2 separate regions of the Homo sapiens genome follow, and region 2 is linked to region 1. The links are contacts of gene promoters, found by promoter capture Hi-C in blood cells and fetal thymus (Javierre and others, 2016). All regions are on one chromosome and are shown on one strand. The core of a region is centred on a gene start or on the middle of the fragment in contact, and the rest is flanking DNA. Distances in the headings are between cores, read along the strand shown.

Region 1 (4,832 bases), core at 396-2,895:
CTTTGTCAGATGAGTAGATTGCAAAAATTTTCTCCCATCCTGTAGGTTGCCTGTTCACTCTGATGGTAGTTCCTTTTGCTGAGCAAAGACACATGCACACGTATGTTTATTGCGCACTACTCACAATACAAAGACTTGGAACCAACCCAAATGTCCAACAATGATAGACTGGATTAAGAAAATGTGGCACATATGCACCATGGAATACTATGCAGCCATAAAAAATGATGAGTACATGTCCTTTGTAGGGATATGGATGAAGCTGGAAACCATCATTCTCAGCAAACTATCGCAAGGACCGAAAACCAAACATCGCATGTTCTCACTCACAGGTGGGAATTGAACAGTGAGAACACATGGACACAGGAAGGGGAACATCACACACCGGGGCCTGTTGTGGGGTGGGGGGAGAGGGGAGGGATAGCATTAGGAGATGTACCTAATGTAAATGATGAGTTAATGGGTGCAGCACACCAACATGGCAGATGTATACATATGTAACAAACCTGCACGTTGTGCACATGTACCGTAGAACTTAGAGTATAATAAAAAAAATTTTTTTAATCTTCTTTGATAGTGTTAATAACTTAATTTTTTGTATTAAAGTTTTTCTAAATGCTCACGACAAACATTAGAAAAAACTTAGGAAACATACAGTTTAATTTAAAAATATTAATCATATTCACACATCTTTTCTGCAAAACGACAACTTAAATAATGGTAGCTTTTTTCAACTCCAAACACTAAGAAAACTACAACAACAAAACCACTCCTCTTTGTCAAATAAGGAAAACTCAAACTTTTGGCAGTCTGCAAACTGTGAGGTTGACTTTATAATTTTTCATCACAAGGTATACCTCCTGAAGCCTCTTAACTATTTTCAGAAAAAGACAGTGTTGCTGATAATGCAATATATCCTGCATGTTCAACCTTTGTGAATCATACCATGTAGGGCAATTGACTTGGTGAGCAAAATCTCCATGGTCACCTGGGTAGCTGCATTTAGAAATAGGAGCTGTCCAGTCAAGGTTACAGCACTTGTTTTCTTTCCTTAGAATTCAATGCAGTTAAATATCATCTGTAAATTTTGATTAGCTTTGCAAGGCTATTGAAGGTTTGTATATTCCAATGCCTCTGATTAATCAAATTCAATTAAAAATGAAAATAAAGATTTATTTATATAATAGTAGGGAATATATCCTCTTCTTATTTATTTTGAGTTGAAGAGATGGAGATAAATCCAATAGAAAAATAACAATAATAATGTTCAAACATTTTCAACATGTAAAGAATTGTATTTAGAACTATCAAAAATTTATACAATAGGATGTTTTATCACAGAATCTGGAAAGGAGACTTCTAGAAATTGAGAAATACAGGATATTTCTGATATAAGACTGAATGCAAATGTGTATATTCTAAGAAATACAAAAACAACTTGGTAAAAAAAAAAAAGACACTTAAAATGAGTGCTGTGTGCTTTCCTTTCTGGTTTTTATTATTTTTAAATTGTTCCTTCAGCCACCAAAGTTATATGATGGTTTCTGAACAGCGTTTACTTTTGTGACAGTTTCATCTCACTCTGTTGTCCAAACTGATAAAGTCCAGAAGTCTAGAAACAGCAAGGGACTCCCTTCCTCTGTTATATGTAAGCTGACAAGAGGCAGACAAACACGTTCTGAAGTTTTGTGCATGCTGCGTTTTCTCTCCTTGCTGCAACAAGAAAAGCCTTTGTTTTCCAACCTGGCAACCTTTGAAGAAGTGACTCAGACATCTTCATGGCCTCTAAAGGTAAGAGTAAATATAACCAACTAATAACTTTTTCTTATATTAAGACTAAAAATATACAATTGTGGATGTGTTACAACCAGTTAGATTGGTACTTTAAAAGCTGTCATTTGTCACTTTTGAACATTGTGATTTTAAAATCTTAACTCCCAGGAGCATGTTGAGTTACATGTAAAAACACTTTATCTGACAGACTGTAAAAGTTCAGATGTAAACGATGTTTTAGTTATCATGAATACAAACATAGTGAATTAATAAGAAAAGCTGCATAGCAAAGTTTAGAATGGGAATCTTCAATGTTAAACACAAGGACAGGGTGATATTTTAAGTTTAAAAGGATTTGAAGAAAACTTTTCACACATAAGTTAGAAAGTGTTAAAGTGCAATTTAATAATTTTTTTAATTAAAATATTAAAAATTTATGTGGGTACATAGTAGGTATATATACTTATGGGATACATGAGATGTCTTCATACAAGCAGGCAATGTGAATTAAGGACATAAAGGGGAATGGGATATCCATCCCATCAAGCATTCAGCCTTTGAGTTACAGACAATCCAGTTACACTCTCTAAGTTTTATTTTCCCATTTGTTATTCAAATTATGTGATATAGCCATTTATTATAAAGAATCTGACATGCGTTATTATTGATTCTTAAATGTGATGGGCTAGAAATAAGTATTTCTGAATTATAAAGCAAAAATATCTTGAAATTTCCTTATGGTAAATTAAAGATAGAAAACAAACAGAAAATATCTGCTTTAAGCGCACAGATCACTTAGCAGACTTTTGGGGAGTAGGACTGATGAGTTTTTTCTCAAATTCCTAAAACTGCAAAAATATCATTACGTTATCTTACTTTAAAGAAGGTCTAAAAAGACAAGAGATGTAGTTGTTTTTAAAGTAAGTTGCAATCTCACTAAAAACACTTGTGAAACTGTGTAAGAAATAAAATTATAATGTGCTTTCATTTCATTGTCAGAATGAACCACTAAAGCCTAGGCTATAATGAAAAGTTTTAGCATGAAGAATTATAATTAGTATAATTGGTGAAAACCTTTTAAATTAATTACAAATAGGATAATAGGGCTCATCAATTTGTAATATCCTAAATTAGTGATCCATTCAAACAAATGTGTATGCTTACTTGCTTCCTTTATCAAAACACACTTTTGGTCACTATTTAATATGAAACAAATGAGATAATCTTTCCATTTTTTATCAATCTTTAATGTAGACCAGTCCCTCAGTCCCTCAGAATCACTGAGAAAGCTCACACAAATTGTAAAACATAGATGTGAAATAGCAAAATCATGAATTTAACATATGTGTCATTTTTTTCTATCTGAAGACAAATAAACAAAAAACCTTGACAAATATTTCCTTTCATTTAAGACTGACACTACTATTTAGTCCAAAATACTTCATCACTTTATAAAATAAGAGTTACAGCAATACTGTAGACTGTAAGGTAAAAAGTTGCAGAGTGTATAAAATATTTATAAGCTAGTTATACATTTTTAAAAGAGTAGATAGAAATTCAAAGCCAGTACGAAATTCAAAGGAGTTCCTTCTTCATCTGGTTGTCTGAGTCTTTGAAGAAACTTGTGACTGGAAAGTAATATTATGTCAAAATATGATTAATCTAACAGGAAGCAGTGATGTTCCATAATGATAAAGACCCAAGTCTAAACTTAGAAGCAAAACTTCAGGTGGAAAACTGACCCTCCTTCTGCAACCGGCTCAAAATATTTAATGCATGGAAGGATAAAACACCTATTAGAGACTTCATACTACCTAGGAGAATATAAGTGATAATGAAGCTTTCTTGTGAATTAGATATCTTGTTTAAGAGGGCAAGTCAAATTATCACCATTATCTAAGTAAAACATTTTTGTGGATAGTTTTCTTCAGCTGTATATAAACACATTATTTATAACATCATGTTTTCTTGTCCAGTAACTATATTGGCAATTAGCATTTTCCCAGGGAATGCAGACTAATTGTACATTTCACATATTTCATAGGCAGATCAATCAGCACTACTAAACCAAAAGACAGTCTAAATACCAGGTGCCATTAGAACTGAAGAGACATTTGTGTGAGCTGGAGCATCCTGGCTTAGTAGAAATTAACACAATTTAAGAGCAAGTTGCTCTCAAACACGGTGATCTGAACTGAGCAAGAGCTGTCTCCAAAGGTTGCTTCAATGTGAACTAAAATCCCAGAAGAAGCAGCTAGTGATCTCAGAATAGTGATGTCTCTCAACAGTCTCAGGCAGAGACTCACTCACACTCTACTCCTAAATAAAGACTTTGGACACAATATCCTCTGAGCTCCAAGTGCATTAATGCTTCTGGACTTGCTGTGAAGTCTAAGGCCCTCCAGGACTGGGCGGGAATGTACAGCTACTTGCCAAACCCTCCATAACCTACTGCATTTTGTTACAGCAAACATAATTTACAAGATAAAATTGGGGTAATTTGTGAATCCCTTTAACAATTAAGTTTACAATGAGAGAGAATCTAAAAATCTTATACTAGCTATTGTTAGAAATTAATCCCTACACATGGTTTTTAATTGAGAGATAATATGTGCAGTGAAGTACATAGAGCACAAAACCTAGGCTCCATGATTTTTAAAATAAGGACCCATTCATGACCACCACCAAGATCAAGATATAGACATTTCTAGATTCTATAATGTTCTCTTTCTAGCCAATAGCCATGCATCCTCCCTTTCCCAAGATGGACCACTATTCTGGATTTTATCATTGTGAACTAGTTTTCCCTATATCATAATTTTGCTTCTATGTTTTTCTGAAAGTGACAATGGTACATTTTGCACTAACGCTAAAGAAATAATGTTTATTGCCTTTTAATATTTTTGCATCATTATTGTTATATTAATGGCCATTAGCTCTTCTCCCAAATCTGACATAGTGTTACATAGTCTTTCTCTGGCTTTACTTCTTAGGATCCTATTGAGGAGCCATTCTCAAGAGCAGGGGAAGGTCTAAAGCCTATATCCTTTGTATCTGCC
Region 2 (5,094 bases), core at 2,575-5,074, 220 kb after region 1:
TGACTTTGCATTTCTACCATGACCTTATTTTTTACCAAGGGATACTTTTAAATCTTACCTTAATTGAATTCTGTACAGCATTTAGTATTGTTGATCATTCCTTCCTAAAGTCTTTCATTCGTTTACAGAAAACCCATTCTCTGATTTTTTTTTCTTGTCACTCATCCTTAGGCTCTATTAAATCTTCTTGTGTACCCATTCATTAAATGCTGATGTTTCTCAACTTTGTATCTTTGGATCTTTTCTGGACTATCTAGCTTGTCACATAGCAGGGAAATTGAAGGTACATTAAAAACTTAAAATTAATTTTTATTTATCAAAGTAAAACATTTGAATAGTCTAAAATGCCAAACACTGCTAAAAGACTTATCACACAATCAATAGCATCTGGCTACTCCCCGCCACCCACTTTCTACATATATAAGCAAAAATCTTGCTGGAACTTTTATTTGGATTTTTATTGAATTTTTAGATAAATTTATGGAGAACTGATATTTTGACAATATTGAAACATCTAATATGAAAATGTCATATAGTTCTCTTTTACTTAGGGCTCCTTTAATTTCTTTCATGTAAGTTTTGTAGTTAGCACAGTACAAAAAAAAGTTCCTTACATATTTCTTATTACTTTTATTACAGATATCTAGTGTTTTGATGCTTTTGGACAAGGCATCTTTCAATTATATTTTCTAGTTTTTTGTTTCTAGTATATGGAAATACAATTGATTTTGTACATTGGCTAATACTGTTACCTTTGTCAACCTAAATAACAAACAGAAAAAAAGAAAAAGATATTTATTTGGGAGTAGGGCATTATAATGGGCATATGTGGGCCATAGTAAACTATGTGCATATTCAGGGAAGTAAAGGAAGGCAAAGATTTTTAAAGAAAAAATGAAGATGATCACATAATTCTTATATAATTATCTTTAGCTACAAGAATCGGTAACAAGAGTGACACTAATTTGATGTTGAATAGGCAGTTGCTAGACTGATGTCTTTTCAGAATTATTTTTTGTGTAAAGTTGTAATGGCCTTTGTTCAAGGCTGCAGAATTTGCAGTCCTTTGTGATCATTTTTATCAGGCATTTATACATGAGAACCCTCTCTTTGTAGCCTTTCCTGGCGCAATTTTTAAGGTTTCATTTTTAACACAAGCAACTCTATTTTTATTCTGACAACTTTCTCATTTCCCCCTATTGATCAAGCTATTTCTCTGAAAACATCATTGATCAATCATCCTATAGTTAGGTTTGTGTTATCTCTTGCTGCCAGAATGAACCTATTCCAGTTTGTTGGTCTGGTCCCATGTTGGGAGAATGGTGAGTAGGAGTCAGTGTCAGAACTCTTTTAACTGCATTTGAACAACAATGGTGGTTTGAAGGAAGTGGCTCTCAGGCTAAGCCTACCTAGAGTTCATTATTAAGTTCAATTTCATCTCTTCTGTAGTCTTTTGCTATCATCTCAAAGAGCTGGGCCAGTATTATTTTGTTAAGAGTTGTACTTCTGCAGAATTTTAACAAGTGGCAAATATAAAGTTTAAAAATGGAAAATACAAAGTAAAATTAATAGTCATATAACAATCTCCATTTGCATAATGGTTTAGAGCCATGAATCTAGACTTAAAGGCAACTAATTGAGTGAATCAGATTATCTATTATCCTGCCAAGTGAAAAAGGTAGGCATTAAGAGGGGTAAGAGTCTCATTATGACATGGAGTCTTGCTCTGGCATCTGTGGAAAACTGTCTACTGCATGAAAATGTCATCTTCTTGTCCCGGTTTGCAATTTGAGTGTCTCTTGGTTATGGCATCAGGTGGGTTTGGTAAACTTTTTGTGTGGCCAATAGGTACAAGTCTTGCTCCTTAAAATTATTGTAGTTTTAGCATATAAGGCATTAAGAACACAGCAGTTCCCAATTTTAATAACTCCATGAAAGAAAGTTGGATTGGAAGAATGTAAAAGAATCCAGGATCTAGTCTAGTCTATTGGTAGATAGCAAGAACTTGAAAACAATGCACAGGGCTACAGTTTGATAATAGATGTATTGTGGCTTTTCTTTGGAAATATGTTTTTTCCTGTATGTTGATTATAAAGGAATCTCAGAAAACCTCTTGAGACTAGGAAGCCAAACCAAGGCAGACTTTAGATTTTACATACACTCTTTAAGGTTTCTGGGCCTGCCAAGAAGTAACCATTTTTATCTGCTAGGAAGATAAAAAGGCTGTACTGTAAGGAACCCTTGAAACCAGGCATTCTCAAAAGTGGTATTTCAGTCAAAGACTTGGTAATATAAACAATGTTTCCAATTGTATCCTGCTATATAGAGAGAGCAGATTTTTACTGGACTTATGCAAATAACCATATTGTCATGAGAATAATCATGAACACTTTTGAATTTTGGTGGAATCAAAGAAGGAGAAAAAGCAATTCCTTCTATCTTTGTTTTCAGATGTATATTTTACCAAATTTCTGTAAAGTTCAAATAGTTTGAGAGAACAAAAATTTCTTACATTTGGAAAAAAAATTTAATAAAGAGTCAACAATGTTTTAAATGTCATAAAAACATTATCTTCACTAGTTGTCCAATCTCATGTAATTAATTTTTGTTCTGCTTGTTCTTGATTAGAAATTTTATGAACCCATCAGTTTCTTCATTAAAGTTTTGAAAAAAATTTATTTTGCCCATTGATCTTAAATATATTAGAAACCTATATTTAAGAGGACATACAAATACTTGTTAGTCTTTCCTTGAATCTGATTGCACATGCTTTCAGAGAAGAGTTCAAAATAATCACTGTGAGTGACAAAAACTTAGAATAGCCATGGTTAAAAATCTGGTGGAAGTTTATTATAATCAGCATTTGACAAGATAATTTAGTTATTTTTGTGGCATACAATATGGTAGCCACAATTATGATGGATAACATATTAGATTTCTAAGAGTTTTATCCAAATTTGGAATATGCATATTAATAACATACCCATAAGTGTAACTGAAACATCTAGATACTCTTATCAGATTGAATAAATTTAATTATAGTTTTCAGTTGCTGAGATTTTTATTAACCTGATTAATGAGTTTGAAGATTGATTCTATTACTTATAAAACTATATATAGTTATAAAAATTGTTCTGAAACTATAAATTTAGATATATTACATATTATAATATATATAAAACATTTATTAATGTAGAAAAATTATTTCGTTACAATGAAGATGGCCTCAATCACATTGTGTCATTCAAGAGACACTAATTTCATATATAAGTGCAGTATTCCAGGACAAAGAAAATCAAATGAGAAAAGGACAAAAGGCATTTTATGATCCTGCTGTCTGACAAATCAATTTGTAGTTGCCTACCTAATTATCAATGGTTTTTGTCAAATGCTATTGGAGAAAGATTTATGCTAATAGTGTTTCACTTTATCTTATGCTAGGACATTAATAAGTGGATCACTTTCTCTTTAGCTAAAACATTAGCTAAATCACATTGGGAAAATAAAACCCAGAAGCAGAAACTAATTGGAAACATTGCTTTTAGGTAATGAAGCACTTACATATCTGTTTTGAGGATTCATTAGTTTTAGTTTGGGGAAGTTTCTACATAACTCACCTGAAAATATGCATAATTGTCATTGAAATATATACTGCCAAAGTCATTGAATAAAGGGGGAACTTTGGCATTTTATTTCATTTCATTTTAATAAACACTCCATGAAAGTTTGGGCTACATTTCAGGCTCTAAAGATAAAAAAAAAATAGATGATCAAGGCTGTATCCTACTACTTAAGGAGCCTAGTAGGGGAGGAGAAACACAATTAAACCAACAACAACTCTACGAGGTGATAGGGCTATTAAAGACATTTACATAATGTGCTACAGAAACACCACGAGATCAAAATTGTACATTCTTTCTAGATAGGAGATATAGTTTATCGATAGTGTTTTAACACCTCTTTGTCTCTCTTTCCCATAGACTTAGTATTTTGAAGATAGATGCAAGAAGGGCCAAAGTATCCCCTCAGTAAACTAGAGAAAGTTGCAACTGCCCCTGTGGTTTGCTAAGAGGTTTGCATAAACCAAATGAAGAGCATTCTAGGCAGCTACAGAAGGGCTCAGTAGAGTATTTTCCTTTGGAGAACTTTCAGAAAGCATCATTATGGGTAGAGAGCTCTTCAGCAACAAGCAAGCACATTTGGGGTCAATAAGTGCAATTGTCATAGGTAAGAGAAACTGATATCTGAGAGGTAAAGCTGTTTTACCAATAATGAAAAGAAATGGATCAGTCTTATGGTTGTCCAGCGACAATTTTTCTTATTAATTAGAATAGGTTGTATCACATTCATTACAAACACAGAGACTATTTTAAGAGATGTTAAGATATTTTCCAGAAGCAGGACTAGCTACATAATTTGTTGAGCTCAGTGAAAACTAAAATGTGATGTTCCTTCTTCAAATATTATTAAGAATTCAGGATGGAAACAGCAGCACATTAATGCAAGCACAGGGTCCTATGTGACTACCTGGCAATCAGGCCTATGAAGCCAGCAGTGGCCAGAGGGCAGTATCGCTTTGTGTACTGTAGCAAGCTAAATATTTCTAGAATGAGAAACCATAGCTTTGAACTACAGCACATGCAGATCTGAGTTCTAGCTCTATCACATATTACCTACTGTATATTGAACAAGATGTAAAATTTTCTACTTCCTCATTGAAATATGGCCATGCAAATTAAAACTTCCACTTAATCTCCAATATTATATACAAATATACATGTAAATTTTCTTCTGCTGAATATACAAAAAACTGATTTTATTATTTAAAAAAGAATGTATCCAAAGTAGTGGCTTTCAAATATTGCTGCTGATTTTAGAAATATAATTTTATTAAAGTAAAACAATTTGTTCATTTTCAATTATTATTTTAATTTCCTTGGCCATTGATTTCACCACTCACCCCAGTTGTGCACTAAAGATTCACCGTTAAAAAGATTATTTTAAGATTGGATTTTAAAATATTTAAATAGCTGAGTGCAGTGGCTTATGCTTGTAATCCCAGTGACTTAGGAGGTAGCAGGATCCTGCGAGCCC

Evidence for each region. Contacts are between HindIII fragments. The CHiCAGO score rates a contact against its expected background, and 5 or more counts as called.
Region 2: a fragment that was not itself captured here is called in contact with the fragment with the promoter of PLSCR5 in region 1 in 1 of 17 cell types (monocytes); the score reaches 7.0 in monocytes.

What each region holds. Positions count from the first base shown.
Region 1 is chr3:146,602,159-146,606,990 of GRCh38, reverse strand. It overlaps PLSCR5 (phospholipid scramblase family member 5), which reads left to right and starts at 1,645. Exons shown (of 8, transcript NM_001085420.2): 1 at 1,645-1,791. The coding sequence starts at 1,779. The HindIII fragment of the contact is 8,012 bases long and covers 1-3,615 here.
Region 2 is chr3:146,382,050-146,387,143 of GRCh38, reverse strand. No RefSeq gene overlaps it. Among named protein-coding and RNA genes, the nearest start is that of PLSCR2, 85 kb to the left of the region's middle. The HindIII fragment of the contact is 7,777 bases long and covers 1-5,094 here.